2 separate regions of the Homo sapiens genome follow, and region 2 is linked to region 1. Evidence: promoter capture Hi-C in 16 types of primary human blood cells and fetal thymus (Javierre and others, 2016). All regions are on one chromosome and are shown on one strand. Each heading gives the region's core, a stretch centred on a gene start or on the middle of the fragment in contact. The rest is flanking DNA. Distances are from core to core; before and after follow the strand shown.

Region 1 (2,736 bases), core at 237-2,736:
GTCACTTCCTATTCGAAGAAAAAGGAGGAGATGCCATCTGGCAAATTCGAGGTAGGGAGACAAATCAATCGATGACGTTGCGAGGAGACAGAGGTCAAACGGGATCTACTGACATGACAGGGCGTTGAAGGGAAGGAAAAGTTGAGGGAAACGAGGAAACTATTTCCATAGGAGAATGCTTTTTCACTGAAGTCGAAACTGGCTTGGTACTGACGCCCAGCAGGGGAAACTCCCCGGACACTCACAGACATTCATCTGGTTACTTGCAGGAACATCTGCCTTTCCTGGTGACACCCTCTGCCCTGCAGTCTTCATTTTCCCTGGATAGCCCAGCGTCATTTAAATACTCAGAAGCCTCTCTGCCTTTCTATGCTGTTGTCTGCAAAGAGATGAACGGACCTGTGCAGACGGCTGGCCAGTGACGCCGGGATCTCTAGGTAACATGACCCAGTCACGGTGTCACAGACAGGCGGACCAGGAGGAAACCAGAGACACAGATGGATTCCAGGGAAAGCCAGCGTTACAGAATTAAGAAAAGCTGGGGAAGAAAAAGGAAAACGAGAATTTCCAAAACTGCCGCTTTCCCAGCAGAAGGGAGATGAAGTTGTCACTTTGGCTGCGAGGGTGCAGAGATGGAGGAAGGGTTGGGGGTGGGGGTGGTACCGCAAGGGAGAAAAATAGCTATAGGCTTCATCGCAAAGGGGTTCATGCAGAATACGCGAGGCCGGCGGCTAACTCTAAGATTGCTCTCTCGTTATTCTGTGCCTGGTGCAAAACCCACTACTCAGGGGACAACACATCCCAGCATAAAGAATGAAATCATTTCAGCAGCGAGGGCTGGGCCCGCTAGACCGTGAGGCTCCGGCGGCTTCCGCCCGTTGTCTGGTGCACCCCACCTTCAGAAGCACCTGCCCAAGATGGGAGCGACTGAAGAGAGAGGCCCCAGAGACTCTCCGAGGGGCGGCACCCCCAGATTCCCGGCCGGCGGACCAAGTTCGCAGCTCTCAAAAGACATGTCTCACACCAAGGGCCCCGGGCGGGGAGAGGAGAGAAGAGGGGAGGGGAGCAGGGCGCTGCTCCAGGGCACCTGCCTGAGCTCGGGCGCGATCCCCGGCCACAGGCGCGCGGGGTCACCGCCGGGGGACCGGGACTCAGCCCTCGGAAAGTCCGCGCCAACCCACAGGGCACCCGGGCGCCCGCTCTCCGACTGCTGTCCCGGCTGCCGACTCGTGGCCCACGTCCGCCTCAGTTTCCCCGCCCCTCACCTGCTCGAGACTTCGGAGACTGTCCCGGGGGGCGCCCAGCAGCGCGCAGAGCTCCAGCAGCCCCGAGGGCAGCGACAAGTGCGGCGACGCGGCCTCCGCCATGGCTGCCCGCCGCCCGCCGCCAGTACCGCACTCGGGCGCCTCAGCCGCGCAGTCGCCCGCAGACCCCTGGGGACCAGCCGCGCCGCCTGGGGGCCGGGGGCGCTGCGAGCGCCGTCTGCGGGGCGGGGCTGGAGGCGGGGCCTGGAGGGGCGGGGCCCGAGCCGAGGCGGGGCCTGGAGAGCCCCAGAGGATACCGCGGGGAGACAGAGTTTGGGGGCGGGGCTTGACTGGGCGGGGAGGTTCTGGGCGGGGCCTGGAGTGGCGTGCCCGGCCCTAGGGACCGGGACTTGGGGGCGGGGCCGGTCCTAGGGCGGGTGCTGCTGGAGACCCGCGCGCGGTCGTCATTTCCTAACCCGCCTGCGGGCCCTGGCGCGTGCGCGGCGTCGGAGCAAGCGGCCCCTTCCTTCGGCCCCGCCCAGCCCCGCCGGCCGCCCGCTCCCTGGGGAACCGAGGGAGGAATGGGCGGGGTCCTCAGGTGCCCGGCGACGTCATCCAGCCCCCAAGGCTCCAGGACGCAAAGGGTCCCCTGATCTGGCAGTCCCTGGACCTACCCTGGAGAGCGTGGGGGGACAAAGGCCGGACGCGCCGCCCGCTGCCGCCTCCAGGAAGCCCTCCCTTGCCAGGACAGTGGAGTTGGCCGGGTGTGGACAGCAGGAAGGGCCGGCGGGAAGGGGGGGTGGAAAGAGCCACTCCTGGTTAATAACTCTGCGGGGTTAACCTAGGGCCGGCCATACTCAAGTACGGACTTGAGTAAAATTCAGCAGGAAAAGGAGCAGGGTGGGCGCCGCTAGAGGGAGGCTTCAGGACTGAGGGTCAGAGGCCCAAGGCCTGGCAGGGCCCTTCCCTGGTCAGCTCCAGGCTTGGCCTGATGCCCGGTGGGCCACGGGCCTCTTCCAGCCTCAGGCTGACCCCAGAGAAAGAGGACAGCCCACAAGCCCGGGAGGCCGGCTTGCTGCCTGGTCATTGCTGCAGAGCCTGGAGGGGGCCTGCGCTCAGTCCCCGCTGACCGTCCCCTCCCTTGACCCTGCCATAGCCATCTGTGTAACCCAGGGGAAATTATTCCAAAGGGACTTCCACTTCTGATAATCTATGATTCTATTTTCTAAAAAACAAAACTCTAAAATGCTTAATGTCAAACATCTGTCATCAGCTGAACAGGAAAAGGAACAGTAAGTACAAAGCAAGGCAACATCAGAAAAGGGAGCCCTGAGGAATTTCTCCCTCCTTCCCTGAGCCGGGTGAGGCCGTGACTGCAGCCTGACTCACAGGTTTTATTTCACTTATTAACCTAAAGATGGTGAGGATCTGCTGGTTCTCCCCCAGGCCTGGAGGCTGCCTACCATCGGTGGCTCTCATCGGTGAGCTGAGG
Region 2 (6,967 bases), core at 2,098-4,597, 92 kb after region 1:
CAGCAACCCCGCTTCTTGGTTCATATCCCACAAAACTGAAAAAGGGACTCTCACAGATATTTGCACACCCATGTTCATGGCAGCATAATTCACAATAGCGCAAAGGTGGAAGCAACCCAGGTTTCCATCTACAGATGAATGGATCAACAAAATGTAGAATATATCAAACAAAACATGATTCAGCCTTAAAAAGTATGAAAATTCTGTCCACGCTACCACATGAATGAACCTTGAGGACATTATGCTTTTGAATTAAGCCGGCTAGGAAAGGACAGATGCTGTATGAGTCCACTCACATGAGGTGCCTGGAGGAGTCACATTCTTGGAGACAGAAAGCAGAACAGTGGGTGCCAGGGACTGTGGAGAGGAAGGAAGGGGAGTTAGTGTTTAAAGTGGGGATGGAGTTTCAGTTTGGGAAGATGAAATCGTTCTGGAAATGGATGGTGGCGATGTGCGTACAACACCAGGAATGTACTTAATGCCACTGAAATGTACACCTAAAAATGATGAAGATGGTAAATTTTACGTTACACATATTTTACCACAGTTAAAACAACAACTGTAATTGTTTTATTATTTTTCACAATCCCTGTGGGTGATGAGTTTGGGAAGGGCTTGGTTGGGGATTCTGGTTGGTTCTGGATGGTTCTGGGTGGTTTTGGCTTGAGGTCTTTCATCACACTCTTACCTCCTTGAAGGCAGGAACCAAGTCATAGTTATCTAACTGACTAACTGGCTCTTCCAGCCTGGGGGGCCTCTGGGAGCACTCAGACCCTGGACAGCCAGGCAGCAGAGGGGTTCAGGAGCCCAAGGCCCACTGCCAAGAAGGAAGTGCCAAACAATAGCCCCCAAGAGGCCTGCCACTCTCACAGCCAGATTTGCACTTCCAGGGACAAAGGAGATTTCCTCTGTAGGAAATGATACCTGAGGGAGGGCTTCCTGCGGGAGCAAGCCAAGAAGGGGCTGGGGAGGAGGAGAGCAGCGGGGAAGTGAGCTCTGGATACTCACGTCCCTGGTTCTGGGCACAAAGCCAGCCCACAGGCCACTAAGGGCCTGGCATATTCTACATGAGTCAGGCTCTGAGCCTGGAGGTCAGCGGCCAGGGGATTAGGGTCATGAAAACACTCCTTTAAACCCCGGCTCCCCGTGTACCCGCTGTGTGACATACAGCCCTCTCTGTAAAAGGGGGACAATGATGAATTCAGTGTTCACTGGGCATCTAGGCACTGAGGATAGGATTGCAAGACCCAGACCCAGGCTTGCCCTCAGGTACTTCACTGCCTTCCTAGGGAAAACCAACAAAAATAAACCAGCAGAGGCAAATAAAAACAAAACACCATGAAATCCGAGTGTGGGGTATTTGAAGGTGTTGATTCATCTCACCCCCTCACCTCTGCAATTGGAATTAATTAGGAAACAGAATCAGCAGGTGGTAAGGGCTGAAGTGTCAGCTCCGTGCTGGAAATGTGAAGCTGCTGGAGTTGTTCTGACTCATAACCAGATGGGCTCTTGCTCCTTCCTCCTGAATTAAACATAACCATCCCAGGAAGGGGCCGAGCAGGGCCAAACAGGGGCGGTGCCCACTAGGGGAGAGCTGGCCACGGGGAGCCATCCCAAGGGCCACAGGCAGGCTGGGCTTCCCGGACTCCTCAGACTCCCTCTCCCCAGGGAGTGACGGGGAGGGACCAGTGCTGTTCTGCCCCCACCCGTGGAGTCAGCCTGCCTCCAAGGAAACCCGAGGAGGGGGCAGAGGCGTCCCTATGGCAGTAACAAATGTCCTGAAGGACCCAAATAGAGGCTGAGATCTAGAGTGACGGGCTAGGGCAGGTGGTAACCAAGCCAGGAATGGGACGAGATGCCAGAACCAGCAGGTGGGTGGGTTTCTGGGTGTGTGTGTGTGTGGAGGGGTCTTTTCCAGAAAGATGGACTGCCAAGTGCACAGACAGAGGAGGAGACCCTGGTGAAGTCCCGGCCCAGAGCTCATCTCCATTGCGAGGGGCCTCAGGAAAGGGCGCCTTCCCAGCCGCTTCCCTGTCACCCTCTGCTTGGAGCTTGGAGCCAGGCCAAGGGGGAGGCCAGGAAGAGGAGTGCAGGGGAAACGGGGAGAAGGGGGGAAGACTGAGAACTACTTACTCAGGACCAGTCAGAGGGAGGGAGGGGAAGATGAAGGCTGGAAGCAGAGGGGCAAACGGTGGAGGCTCCACAGGTGGGGGTGAAGCTGGGGTGGAAGATGCGCCTGTCCCCAGGAGCTCTTGGTCTTGCTGCCAACTGACTGGGTGTAGTCGGTGGCTCACTCCGGGAATCCCAGCACTTTGGGAGGCTGAGGCGAGTGGGTCACGGGAGGTCAGGAGTTCGAGACCAGCCTGGTCATCACGGCCCCATCTCTACAAAAAAATACAAAAATTAGCTGGGCATGATGGTGCACGCCTGTAGTCCCAGCCACTTAGGAGGCTGAGGCACGAGAATCATTTGAACCTGCGAGGTGGGCAACAGAGCAAGACTCTTTCTCAAAAAAAAAAAAAAGAGGGAGCACGGGTAGCTGTGGAGTGATGGGTGGGCTCTTTGTAGGGCCCTCCCATCTCTGCAGTTGCAGAGCAGCCAGCTGTCCTCCCAGGTGAGGTGGGGTCCGATCATTGTCCCCATGTGTAACAGTCTGAATTGTGTCCCCCAGGAGATCTGTTCAAGTCCTAACCCCTTGGTTCCTGTAAATGTGACCTTATTTGGAAAAAGGTCTTTGCAGATGCAAGTGAAGGATCTTGAGCTGACATCATCCTGGCTTTAGGGTGAGCCTTAAATCCAATGATCGGCGTCCATATAAGAAGTGGGAAGACAGAGAGGGAAAGCCATGTGAAGGTGGAGGCAGGACAAGCCAAGGAATGCCAGGAGCTGCCAGGAGCCACCAGGAGCAGGAAGAAGTGGGGAGGATCCTGCCCCAGAGCCTTTGGCGGCAGCGGCCCTGCCGGCACCTGGACATTTGGCCTCCAGAACTGGAAGAATAAATTTCTGTTGTTTGAAGACACCCTGTTGGTGGTCATTTGTTACAAGAGCTTTGAAAACAAATATACCACAATAGCCCTTCCACGATCCTGCAAGCCTGCAAGCAGGTGACAGAAACGTAGGTCTCCTTGGCACCCCCATCCCATGGAGCTTGGCCAGCCACGGGGGCAGCATGTGGGAGGAGGCAAGGCAAACATATTCTAAAGGTGGCGCTCACCCTGGCTGGGCTGGAGGCTGATGAAGCTTCAGCCTGTGCTCCTGAGACAGCGGAGGCTCTCCCGGGCCCAGAGACCTGCAGACCTCAAGGGGAAGCAATCTCAGCGAAAGTGCTGCCTGCGGTCCGCGGTCAGGCAAGGAGGAAGTGGTGAGCGCGGCAGGAGCTCAAGGCCGGGACATGGGGGTGTGCCCAGCGAAGCGAACAGCAAAGGTGAATTTGCCGGGATGCTGATAAAGCTTACGTTTCTGCGCCCCCTCTAAAGCCCTGTACCTGCTTTTGTAGTTTTTTCTGGAAGGGGATGCCCCTCAGTTGTATCAGCATCGGATCCCACAAACCCTGGATCCCTCCCTGCTAACACCAGGGCCACAAGAGCACATCGCGCATGCAGAGCCAATTGTGTTGATGTTTTCTCAGGTTTTCTGTTGTCTGACCATCCAGCCAACCAGTTTTTTTATGCAGTCGTTCATCCAGCCCTCTACACAGCCAACCAATCTCCATGATTGAGTCTCTGCCACGGGACATACTCCCTGCTCTCAAGAGACTCATGCTTCGAGGCGGGGGAAAGGGGGCATAAATAAGAAGCAATTAAACTGGCTCTGCCATGAGGAGTGGGGGCAAGAGGTGAGCTGAAGGGAAGAACAGTGGAGGGAATGATTGCCTCAATCTGGAGGTCAGAACCGCCCTACCACGGAGATGACCTGAGTTTTGAAGGATGCGTAGAAGTCACCATCAGACAAGAGGGAGGGCAGCTCAGGCAGGGGAACAGCAGGGGCAAAGGTGTGGGACAGCACTGGGCACTTGGGGACTCACTGTGACTCAGCCTGTGACTCAGCCCTCCTGTGGCACCAGGGCTGCTGGATGGAAAGGGAAGAGCAGGGAAGGCCAGAGCCAGGCAGTGGGGAGCGAGGGCAGGAGGGGAGATGGGAAAGAGGGCCTCACGGAGTGTGCTGGTTTCCTGTGGCTGCCGTAACAAAGCACCATACACATGCGGGCTGAAAACAGCAGAAATGTATTGTTTTAGAGTTCTGGAGACTGAAGCCTGAAATCAAGGTGTTGCAGGGCCAGGCTCTAAGGGCAGAACCTTCCTGCCTCTTCCAGCTTCTGGTTTCAATCTTCAGCGTTCCTTGGCTTTCAGCTGCCCCACTCCAATCTCTGCCTCCAGTGTGGTGTTCCTGTGGGTCTCTCGTACCTCTTCTTATAAAGACACTCAGATAAGTTTAGGCCCCCCAATTGAGCCTAACGCGATTGCATCTACAAAGACCCTATTTCCAAATAAGGTCCTATTCACGGTTACTGGGAGCTGGAGCTTCAACAGATCTTTTGGGAAGACACAATTCAACTCACGACAGGGAGGAAGAATTGCGAGTACTTGCTACTGCTGTGATGCCGTGGAGTGAGCAGAAAGGTGAGGAGTTCCTGGGTTTAGGAGGAAGTTGGGATCCACACATGCTGACGTGGATGGCCCTGGTCAGGAGCTGAGGCCTCTAAGATGAGCTGGGCATGGTCGGTGGCTTACAGGGGCTCCTGGTCAAGCAGGGAGGCAGGAAGGAGCCCAGCCCTGCCAGGCACAGAGATGAGCATGTCTTGGGGACACAGGGCAGGGGCAGAAGTGGCCTGAGGGGGCAGCGCAGGCCCCAGAGAAGTACCTGTAGACTCGAGCCAAAAATGCTGTCATCGTCTCTGACTGATGGCTCCCGGGTGTGCCCATCCAGCCTGGCCTCTCCTGAGCACCTGGCTCCCGTGTGTATCCACCAGCTCAGTCCTCTCTGTCCCATCAAGCTCCGCACACCCTCAGCCAAATCCACCAGCCTCGCTTTCCAAAACAGCTCTTCCTGTCTTCCACCCTGGCCTCTTCAAGAAGGGCCCTCCCCGAAGTCCCTCAACCTGCCCTTGAGGGTGGCCTTCCCACAACTCCCCCAGCCTCCGCCTCCACCTAAGCCTTACTTTCACTTGTTCCCAGGGTCACCCAAAGCTTCCAAGGATTTAGGCAGCAAGTAAAAGAAAACAATCCTTGGTCTGGGCGTGGTGGCTCACGCCTGTAATCCCAGCACTTTTGGAGGCCGAGGCGGGTGGATCACGAGGTCAGGAGATCGAGACCATCCTGGCTAACATGGTGAAACCCCATCTCTACTAAAAATACAAAAAAATTAGCCGGGCGTCGTGGCGGGCGCCTGTAGTCCCAGCTACTCTGGAGGCTGAGGCAGGAGAATAGCGTGAATCCGGGAGGCGGAGCTTGCAGTGAGCCAAGATGGCACTGCACTCCAGCCTGGGTGACAGAGCAAGACTCCATCTCAAAAAAAAAAAGAAAACAATCCTTCCCAGCCAGTCTGCCTCTGCCCGGCCTCCAGCAAGCTCCAAGCTGGTGCGTGTTTTCTCAACTTTCTTTAAAACAAAGGTATAGTTATCCTTTGATATCTGTGGGGGGATTGATTCCAGGACCCCCACAGATACTAAAATCCAAGGATGTTCAAGTTGCTTACATAAATTGGAGTATTACTTGCATACAACCTATGCACATTCTCCCGTACACTTCAAATCATCTCTAGATTACTTATAATACCTAATATAATGAAAATGCTATGGAAATAGTTGTTATACTGTATTTTGAAATTGTGTATTATTTTTATTGTTTTATTGTTATTTTTCATTGTGGATTTTTTTCCCCCAAATATTTTCAATCCACAGTTGGTAGAACCCAACCCACAAATCCCCGCAGATATGGAGGGCCAACAGTAATCGCCGTACCTCCTCCTAAGTTTGTTACAAAGAGTAAGTGAGAAAATACATATGAAGGATTTGGCACAGTTCCTACCAGATGTTATCACTGTTATTATAAGAACAAAAGGAGACCCATGGAAACTCAAGACCCAGAGGGTTAAATTTATTGGGGCCTTTGATGGAACTATTCACAAATCTTTGGCCGGATGTAGTGGATCATGCCTATAATCCCACAAGTTTGGGATACAAAAGCAGGAGGATGGCTTGAGCTCAGGAGTTTGAGGCCAGGCAACATGCCAAAACCCTGTCTCTACAAAAAATTAAAAATTAGCCGGGCATGATAGTGCACGCCTATAGTCCCAGCTACTAGGGAGGCTGAGGCAGGAGGATGGCTTGAGCCCAGGAGGTCGAGGCTGCAGTGAGCCATGTTTGCACCACTGCACTCCAGCCTGGGTGACAGGGGAAGACCCTGTCTCAAAAAAAGCAAAAAAAATATATATATATATACACACAATGTTTTGCCTTGGGGAAGGTAAACTTCTAAAAGATTGTTGGACTTGAAAATGGAAGCATAGATATAAACTAACTGGGCCGTTTTTTCTATGGAGAGCTCCTCCCCTATGGACGGTCTAAATTTCCTATTACTGAAATCTACCATGCCCACTCACTCAAACCTAGTCCCCCCTTTTTCTTCATTGTGTCATCATCTCAGTCACATTGGGGCAGAAAAATGCACACTTTAAAGGGATTTCACATGTGCCCAATGTTTATTCTTATGTCACTTAAATGTCGCCTCTGCTATGTACAAAAGCCTGGTTGAGATGAGCACTTAGAACGGGCAACATTTGGAGGGTTTGGCCTCACAGATGGTCAACACTCTGGGTTGGCAAATTCCAGTCTGGCTTTCTTTGCTGTTGTCACGGAGTTGCTGTTGCCATGGCATTTGTGTGTGTGAGGGAGACGATCCTGCATCTCGTCAGCTTCTGGAACACTCACCCAGAGCCTCGGAACAAGGTGGTGGGAAGACTGTCTGCA

What was found. Contacts are between HindIII fragments. The CHiCAGO score rates a contact against its expected background, and 5 or more counts as called.
Region 2: a contact is called between a fragment that was not itself captured here and the fragment with the promoter of DENND3 in region 1, in 3 of 17 cell types (total B cells, naive B cells and monocytes). The highest score is 7.3, in total B cells.

The regions. Positions count from the first base shown.
Region 1 is chr8:141,127,339-141,130,074 of GRCh38, reverse strand. It overlaps DENND3 (DENN domain containing 3), which reads right to left and starts at 1,486. Exons shown (of 23, transcript NM_001352890.3): 1 at 1,266-1,486. The coding sequence starts at 1,367. It overlaps DENND3-AS1 (DENND3 antisense RNA 1), which reads left to right. Exons shown (of 2, transcript NR_183310.1): 1 at 1-51. RefSeq lists enhancers at 395-1,225, 2,059-2,736 and a silencer at 1,081-1,940. The HindIII fragment of the contact is 7,380 bases long and covers 1-2,736 here.
Region 2 is chr8:141,032,609-141,039,575 of GRCh38, reverse strand. LOC124902030 (a long non-coding RNA gene) reads left to right here and starts at 1,539. Exons shown (of 2, transcript XR_007061121.1): 1 at 1,539-1,871; 2 at 2,672-3,019. LOC105375783 (a long non-coding RNA gene) reads right to left here. Exons shown (of 3, transcript XR_007061120.1): 3 at 6,681-6,962. RefSeq lists enhancers at 480-1,104, 1,105-1,730, 1,731-2,355. The HindIII fragment of the contact is 210 bases long and covers 3,243-3,452 here.